Regions from separate parts of the Homo sapiens genome. Here all the other regions are linked to region 3. Evidence: promoter capture Hi-C in 16 types of primary human blood cells and fetal thymus (Javierre and others, 2016). All regions are on one chromosome and are shown on one strand. Each heading gives the region's core, a stretch centred on a gene start or on the middle of the fragment in contact. The rest is flanking DNA. Distances are from core to core; before and after follow the strand shown.

Region 1 (2,700 bases), core at 90-2,589, 1.7 Mb before region 3:
CCAAATCTCATGTGAGGATTAAAAAAAGCGATGTCCCAGATAAGTCAATGTGACACTAAAGATCTAAACAATTTTTTTTAACTTTTAAGTTTTTTATCAAATTTCAGCACCCAGCAAATAATAGGCACTGTTAATATTTGCTTAATATAACGTAGCTGTGAATTTTTGCCCACATTTAGGCGGACGGGAAAATTAACGCCAGAATATCCCGAAAGTCAAATTTTGTCATCTTACACTTAGGAAGTTACGTTAAAAAATTCTCAAGTCTCGTAGTATTTTTCTTAAGCGCAATTTGGGAATTTCCAGTTACCTCGTGGTTTCCGTCATCAGGTTCTTGGCAAAGATTGCAATACAGTAGTTTTAGAACTATATTAACTAGGTATTCCATTAACTAGGTAAAAACCACTCGACTGACCTCGTGGTCAAATTCCTTACTAGTGCTGCTACTGACTTAATATGACCCTAGCAACCAACACTTTTCTGCCTCAGTTTCCGTCTGAGAAAGAGAGTTAATACCTACCTCAAGCAAAGTTCCACTAACTTATATATTTCAAGTGTTTTGTAACCTGCAGATGAAAAGTCAGCTGTAAATATTAATATAGTTATATCACAATATTTCCTTTTACAAATGTAAGTGAAAATAACTACTTCGAGCTCCATCATTTGCTCATAGAGAGAAATAAAATAAAAAGTTATCAGTAAAATGCTGAATCTTTTGTTAAACCTTTCTCGTAGGCCACGCGGCACGATCCAGGATTTAAAGGCTCGCGATACATCTACTTGGTAACCTTCCCCCTTCCCCTCCCCCACTTTTTACATGTAAGAAGAACGGAGGTAATAGAAGGCATCGGCGCTACGTTAACTTCGACTATATTAATGAGCATCACGATCTTCATTTTCATGATCCCGTAGTCCTCGCGGTCGTAGAAAATGAAAGGAAAGCAGCCGTTAACACAGGAAGAGCGAAAAAAGGACATTTTCCCTGGCGATCGTGGCCTAGAGGACACCAGGTTAAACCTATACAGAGGCTGAGGCCTATAAAACTGCCCCCGGCTTCAACCTAATCCCCCAAAACAAGCAGAATAAATGAGGGCCCGGTTAGTTAGGGGGAAGGATTCCCACATCTTCTCTCCCACACCCCCTCTCGCTTCCCGAAAAACCCAGCGCCTTCCCTGCGTCCGCCCTCTCCACTTACCAAGAAGGGGAGGGAGAAGAGATTCGATTCTGAGTCTCCTACTCCCGGGTTCTGCGTAGAGAAGCCGACTGCTGCTGGAGGTCGGCAACGCGGCCACAACCGCTCAGTCTTCGTCTCTTCACAAAATGGCCCCCGAGTCTCCTCTGCCGCCGAGGCGAAGGCCTAGTCCCCGCCCCATTCCTGAGAATCTTCCTATTGGCTGTGCGTTTTTTCGCTCCCGCTCCTAATTAGACAGTTCAACCGCTCCTCACAATGATATCCAATCACAATTAGCAGTGGGTTAGACTAAGCAGGCGAATTTCCACATGCGTGAGAGAAACTAGTTTATAACTGGTTAGTTTTCCTGTCATTTATTGCCTGGAGAATGCTTATTGGCTATTGCACGGGACGACCCTCTGGGTGGAAACTCGCCTTTGTATCGCGCACCGTCTCACATCCGGGTATCTGGGAGGCCTGATTGGCGGCCGCGGCGTCCTATCGCTGCCCCTTAGAGTGCCTAGTAGAAGATCCGCCCAGACCTCGGATTTCCGGCTGCGCGGGGGCGGGGAAAGGGTTGAGGGGCGTAGTTAGGTGACGGGCGCAAAAGACCTGCCCCAGCCCCGGGCCTAGGGAAAAAAAAGCGCGAAATGAAGCCTCCGTTGTGCAATGTGAATAAAGAAAGGACTTTTCTTAAAATGAGGAGGGAGCAGCAGTGACTAGGCCTTGTTAAAGTGTGTAGAAAACTAACCAGTCCTGCAGTTTTTCCAACCCCAGACCCTTTCTCAGTTCCAGATTCGAATGTCAGCTACCTCGTAGACATCTGCTTCTTGGCCTATTAAACCCTTCTTCAGACAACACATGTTCCATCGAAACCAACTGACTTCCTTATTCCTCTCCAATATAAAAAGGAAGTGCAGAATCCTGGCCTCTGGCCCCAGGGCATCTAATATCTTAAGTGCCAGCAAAATTGGCCCATCCTTCCAAATCTGGTCCCTTAATTTCCCTCCTCTTGAAATGGCTTGTCTCCTACCTACCCCCGTCACCTGCCAGTCTCTCTGGTTACATTATAGGAACTGCGCACGCAGTGGGGTAGCATCAGCTCTACTAAGCCAGCGGTTTCTTTTTTCTTTTCTTTTTTTTTTTTTTTTTTTTTTTTTTTTGAGGCAGAGTCACTGTCGCCCAGGCTGGAGTGCAGTGGCGCGATCTTGGCTCACTGCAACCTCCGCCTCCCGGGTTCAAGCGATTTTCCTGCCTCAGCCTCCTGAGTAGCTGGAACTACAGGTGCGCGCCACCATGTCCAGCTAATTTTTGTATTTTTAGTACAGATGGGGTTTCGCCATGTTGGCCAGACTGTTCAGGTGATCCGCCCGCCTCTGCCTCCCAAAGTGATAAGATTATAGGCGTGAGCCACCACGCCAGACCACTTTAAACTATTTTAAAAAGCAAAGACGAAAAATATGGGAGAAAGTATACACTAAAGTGTTAGTAGTGGTTCTCTCCTGGTGGGAAAATTACATGTGATTTTT
Region 2 (2,700 bases), core at 121-2,620, 1.5 Mb before region 3:
TAACATCGATTATGTTTGAATAATATGACACTGAGAGAAGCTGCAAAAAATCATTTGGTAGAAATTAATCAAAAAATTAAAAAAAATAAAATGTTCAGTATTCATCTAGCATTTAGTTCTTATTTTTCCTTTTCATAAAATGCAAGAGAATCAATTTTATTTTCAATTATCTAATGTATTTAGCCCCAAAAGATGAAACATGCACAGACAGCTTTAATATGAATGGCAAGGAAACGACCAATTTTAATGGCTTGGTTTTAGTAGATGACCAGTTTGAAAGATAATTTACAATGCTGAAATGAGAGCTGATCATTTTTCTCAAAACGTTTTTCAGGTTAAAAAAAAATCTTTATTAGCTGTATCTTCCCTTGATGACAGGGTTCAGGGGCAAGACTTAAGCTAGCCAACTCAGACTGCATCACAGAATGCAACCAAATGTTTGCTCAATTAGTAAGTTAACATCATAAAAATAAGTTTTAACTGTGGACGTTTTTAGAGCAGCAAAACTGCCGAATCTTTAAAAAACTGGGAACTGCCACAGCTCTTTTAATGAACACGTGCCCCGGATACGCTACCAAGGAACTAATAAGGTTTTAGGCATCGTTTTGTTTTGTTTTGTTATTACTAATGCCTGCAGGCTTTCAGCGTTAGGTCCCTCTCTGTAACCCACAGCAGGGCCTAGAACATGAGGCGGTTGCGCGTGAGCAGTATTTCTTTTTTTAACTCCAGCAAAAGCCCCGCAAACGATAAACGCTAAAAGCCCGATTGACATCCTCCTTGCCCTTCCATCTCTCCTTTACGAAGACGGTTATAATCCTGGCGGGACCAGGGGTGGAATATTGTGGTTCTGGAGGGACAGAGCGAGTGCGTGAGAACACGGCAGGGGAGGGCAGCAAGACGTGACCACGGAGTAGGAGGGAAGGATGTTGCCTCTTCTAGGGCGGGAAGAGACTGCGAGAGGTGCTGCTATGCATGACCAAGGCTGGCACGCGGGGAAGATGGTGATGGCCGCAGGACAGGGTGAATGCGGGGGATTCCCTGTTAAGGGGCAGCGTTCGTGGCCGCCTCCGGTGAATGATTCGGGAGCAACGAAAAGGGTGAGGCACAGAACCCGGGAATTCCTGACCGAAAGAGAAAAAAGGGCGCCGAGAAACAGGGTTATTATGGGATGGCTAAGGGGGCTCCCTAGGAAAAATTACAGGATCTTCCTCACCCGCCAATTGCTGTACAGTCTCTTCACTCGCCGATAATAAGCGTCTTTGTCCAGAGTCACAGCCATAGCCCCGGACGCCGCTTCTCCTCGGGTTCCGAGAATCACGCGAGGTCCCGGCTCAGCCACCCGCTCTCGGCCCAGGAATCCCGCACTCTCCCAATGACCCGGAAGTATCGACCTCAAAGATGCCCTTTCCGCTTCCGGGTCCCAACAGCGTTAGGTTTTTTTTTTGTTTGTTTGTTTGTTTTGTTTTTTTCCAACCCTCTTTCGGATGGACGGGGGAAAGAGAGAAAGAAAAACGAGGGAAAATCAACAAAATGTGCGATGCAAAGAGTCGATTTTCGCGGGGTTTGTCAACTTCGCCACTGCCGCACGCGAATCGACGTCGTCACGTGACGGTCTGCCTCCGCCCTTATTAACTCTCAGCCCAGCGGCGGTTTCCAGGACCTCAGACTTTTTGCCGAGGCGGCAGTCCCTAGACGAAGCGAAGGAGGCGGCGCCTGCCCCGCCCACAAGAGCTGCCGCGCGCGGGTGTTATAGCTCCACCCCATCTGCAAAGGAAGGGGGAGCGGAAAGAGCGGGATCTAGCGTGGGATAAAAGTGGGACTACTACAGTGTAACTGGGCATGCGCCCCTCCTAGAAATGATGGGAATGCAAAAGCCCTTGACTGCTCCAGGACTCGAGGGATCCTCGGTGCCAGGATGCTGGGTCAAGCGCTCCGCCGGGACAGAGGACTCATACCAGGGAAATGGAGCCCAGCCTCGTGATAAACTACGACCCAAGCTGGGGGAGGAACCTAGTTTTCGAAAGGAAAATAATATGCGCAAGCTTTAACTGAGCAGTGGGATGGTGTAAGTCAGAGGAAACAGATGACTTGAGGGGCTCTACAAACTTTTAGTTCCTTCCCACAACCCCACCCCCTGAGCCCAAGTCGCGGCAGCATCCTTCCAGTCGGCCAGTCCCCTTGCTGCAGTTCATGAAAACTGGCACTATTCTATGGCTTCCCCCAAATAACCGTTACTTCAGTTAATTAGAAACAAAACATAAATGGTTCCTGATGACATTCTTGCTCCCTGTCTCTTCTAAAAACTTGGAGTTTGAATCCAGAAGTTTGCCTACCTACCATTTACCTTAAATAATTCCCTTGCCTTTAGCCAGCTGGACAGTCTACATTTGTATATACCCTTTAGAGGAGTACAGATGACTTGTCTGCTGTAAGGCAATTTAGTATAAACAGTATTGAACTTAAGGAAAGTGGTGCTGAAATTACCCACCATTAACAACTCAAAATCAATACACTGGGTTTGAGCAAACATAGAACAAAGGAAGAGTGGAAAAGGATTAACTTAAATTTATTAATGCCAAGGGGAAAGAAGGTAACAGTTCCTGACCCTCCAGCTGTATCCACAGTTCGGCCAGGAACAGGCTCTGCCAGAGGCTAGGGCCAGCGCTACATAGTCTGTGGTTAATGGAGGTGACTAGGGAG
Region 3 (2,700 bases), core at 20-2,519:
TGATAAAGCATGAGCAAGACCCAGGAAAGGAAGAGTAGATAAGGCAGACTAGGGACAGTAAGGGAAGAAAGCAGGAGGAAGGAAGAAGCCCGTACCCCTCTAGTCAGAGGACAGCCATAAAAGAACCTACCTCTGTTGGGATGGCTGAAGGTGAAACAGGGCTGGGGTGCAGAGAGCTGGTGGAAGTTGTGCAGCCGTACCACATAAGGCATCTCAAACTGGGCCTGTCAGAGACAGAAAGAGAGAGAGAGTGTTGGGGAAGACACACAAGAGAGAACTACTTCCCCAAGGATTAAAAAAAGTTTTACTTTAGTGCTTCCCCAATCCCTAACTTCTCCTTCACCTCTTCATCCCCAGCAGAAGAAAATAGCTGATGCAAATACAGAAAAAGAAGAGGACTAAAGAGTACCACTTCTTTCCAGAGAGAGTGGTTCTTTACCTCAGGGTCACGGTCCTTCTCCCTACAGGCTCGGACCTCATTGTACAGCTTGGAGGAAGAGATGGGAGCCAGAAAGGAAGTGTACTCCCCGGGGATGCTCACACCATCATCTGCACAGCAGGAGAGTCAAATTAGTTCCAGAGGGAGGGAAATGGTATGTCTGTACTAACTGAAGGATCAGAAGGATCAAACCTCCCATGTCAAAACCAACCAACGTTGGCATGGGCATGGAAGAAAGAGACAAATGCATGTTGTCACATTACTAAGCCAGCCTGCTTCCAACTACTGTCATGGAGGATTCCACTACTAGGTTAATTTACAGAGTCACACAGATTAAAACTGAAAGAACCCAAGATAGTCTAATCTGGTGGTTCTTAACTTTTGTGGGGTCACAAAGTCCCACAAAAGTTCCTGATGAAAGCTAAGCTCAGGGTACATATGTCATATTTATTTATTTATTTATTTATTTATTTATTTATTTGAGATGGAGTCTCGCTCTGTTGCCCAGGCTGGAGTGCAGTGGCACAATCTCAGCTCACTGCAACCTTCTCCTCCCAGGTTCAAGTGATTCTCGCGCCTCAGCCTCCCGAGTAGCTGGGATTACAGGCGTGCACCGCCACGCCTGGCTAATTTTTGTATTTTTAGTAGTGATGGGGTTTCGCCATGTTGCCCAGGCTGGTCTCAAACTCCTGACCTCCCGCCTTGGCCTCCCAAAGTGCTGCAATTACAGGCATGAGCCACCGCGCCCAGCCCACTCCCTTCATTTTACAAATATGAACACTAAGGTTTGGAGAGATGACTTCATTTGCTAGGGGCACAGAGGCAGTGAAGCAGTGGCTCTCAAACTCATATGATGTGACCCAGGTCCAACCCACTTTCCCCTAAACCCTGTACCCTCCTCCCAGGTTGCTGTCTCACCCATCATCACCCTCCACCTACACCCCAACCTGGGGGCACCTTTTAGGAAGTGCTGGGCTCCATCCAGGCACTCAGGCGACAATTCATTGTCAGCAAATGAGCCCAGAAGCTCACTGACAATGATGTCTGCTTTCTCTGGAGCCACCCATTCCCTCATGTCTGATGAGACTACGGTCACTTGGCTTCCCCATTCTTCAAACTGCCAGTTCTCTAGCCTGAAACAGAGACAATAAGGTAAGGAGAGATGTTAAGGAAATTTGGCAATGAGGACTAACTTCCCAGCAAGCAGGTTGCTACTCACGTCACCACGGCATTTGGGTTTTTCTCCACAGCATACAGCTTTATCCGCCGGTCGGCCTGCTTGGCTGCCCGCAGGGAAGCGTTCACCAGGGGTCCCCGTCCTGCTCCCAGCACCATCAGTACCCTAAGAAAGAAAGGGAAGAGTCAAGCAGACTTGGCATATACAGATATAGGTATGCAAGTCCCTGAGATTGAGGGGAAAGCACTCACTGGACATTGGTATCCTTCTCCTCTTCTGGTACTCGGTCTAGCAGACATTTATAGATGGCCTGGAGGGAGGAGAGAATATCCCATGGTTGTAATCCCATCCTCCCCAGGTCATGCTGGCCCTGTGCTTTCCTCACCCTGGGCACCACACAGTACCTGCTGGTACTGAGAGTATTTGATGGGGTCCTTTTCAAACACTTCATATGTCTGAGATTCCAGATTGTCCATCAGTGGCTGATGAATGAGGAAAAGGACAAAGTTAGCCAGTTTCTGGCAAAGGACAATGCACTAAAATATCAAAAACTTTCCACTGCTTTCTGAGTTTTAGTAAGATTTGGAGGCATATATTCTCAAGAAACATTTTCCATCCCACCTTCCTCCTCTAAGTGCACTCCAGACCCACCTGAAGCGGGGACTGCAGATAGTCTTCATAGCCCTTGGCAAAGAGTTCATAGGCATTAGGTGGAGGACGGTTCTGGCTTAAGTATTCCAGGTATTGGAGGTAGGAGCAGAACTCCTTCTCTGAGTGGTGGTTGGTGCCTGTGATGATGAACTGCACCTCCAACTGTGAGAAAAGTCAGACCATCAGACACAGCCCTCAAACCAAGATTCTGGAATATTATGGTATATGGCCAAAGAGCCCTAGTGTAAAATAAGGCCCAGATCAACAGTTCTCTTTTTTTTTTTTTTTAAAAAAAAAGATGGAGTCTCGCTCTATTGCCCAGGCTGGAGTGCAATGGCGTGATCTTGGCTCACTTGCAACCTCCACCTCCCAGGTTCAAGCAATTCTCCTGCCTCAGCCTCCCAAGTAGCTGGGACTACAGGTGCGTGCCACC

The links. Contacts are between HindIII fragments. The CHiCAGO score rates a contact against its expected background, and 5 or more counts as called.
Region 1: a contact is called between the fragment with the promoter of HNRNPC here and a fragment that was not itself captured in region 3, in 1 of 17 cell types (non-activated CD4 T cells). The highest score is 6.1, in non-activated CD4 T cells.
Region 2: the fragment with the promoter of SUPT16H here is called in contact with a fragment that was not itself captured in region 3 in 1 of 17 cell types (fetal thymus); the score reaches 6.3 in fetal thymus.

The regions. Positions count from the first base shown.
Region 1 is chr14:21,268,103-21,270,802 of GRCh38, forward strand. HNRNPC (heterogeneous nuclear ribonucleoprotein C) reads right to left here and starts at 1,340. Exons shown (of 9, transcript NM_004500.4): 1 at 1,196-1,340. RefSeq lists enhancers at 819-1,443, 1,081-1,340, 1,444-2,069 and a silencer at 1,431-1,510. The HindIII fragment of the contact is 8,584 bases long and covers 1-2,700 here.
Region 2 is chr14:21,382,649-21,385,348 of GRCh38, forward strand. It overlaps SUPT16H (SPT16 homolog, facilitates chromatin remodeling subunit), which reads right to left and starts at 1,371. Exons shown (of 26, transcript NM_007192.4): 1 at 1,214-1,371. The coding sequence starts at 1,279. CHD8 (chromodomain helicase DNA binding protein 8) reads right to left here. Exons shown (of 38, transcript NM_001170629.2): 38 at 2,551-2,700. It overlaps LOC107984643 (a long non-coding RNA gene), which reads left to right and starts at 1,625. Exons shown (of 2, transcript XR_001750627.2): 1 at 1,625-2,065. The HindIII fragment of the contact is 3,293 bases long and covers 1-2,040 here.
Region 3 is chr14:22,922,612-22,925,311 of GRCh38, forward strand. It overlaps PRMT5 (protein arginine methyltransferase 5), which reads right to left. Exons shown (of 17, transcript NM_006109.5): 8 at 2,268-2,429; 9 at 2,021-2,098; 10 at 1,868-1,926; 11 at 1,659-1,781; 12 at 1,397-1,572; 13 at 440-549; 14 at 131-224. PRMT5-AS1 (PRMT5 antisense RNA 1) reads left to right here. Exons shown (of 2, transcript NR_120600.1): 2 at 468-796. LOC124903285 (a long non-coding RNA gene) reads left to right here and starts at 1,690. Exons shown (of 2, transcript XR_007064073.1): 1 at 1,690-1,830. The HindIII fragment of the contact is 8,606 bases long and covers 1-2,700 here.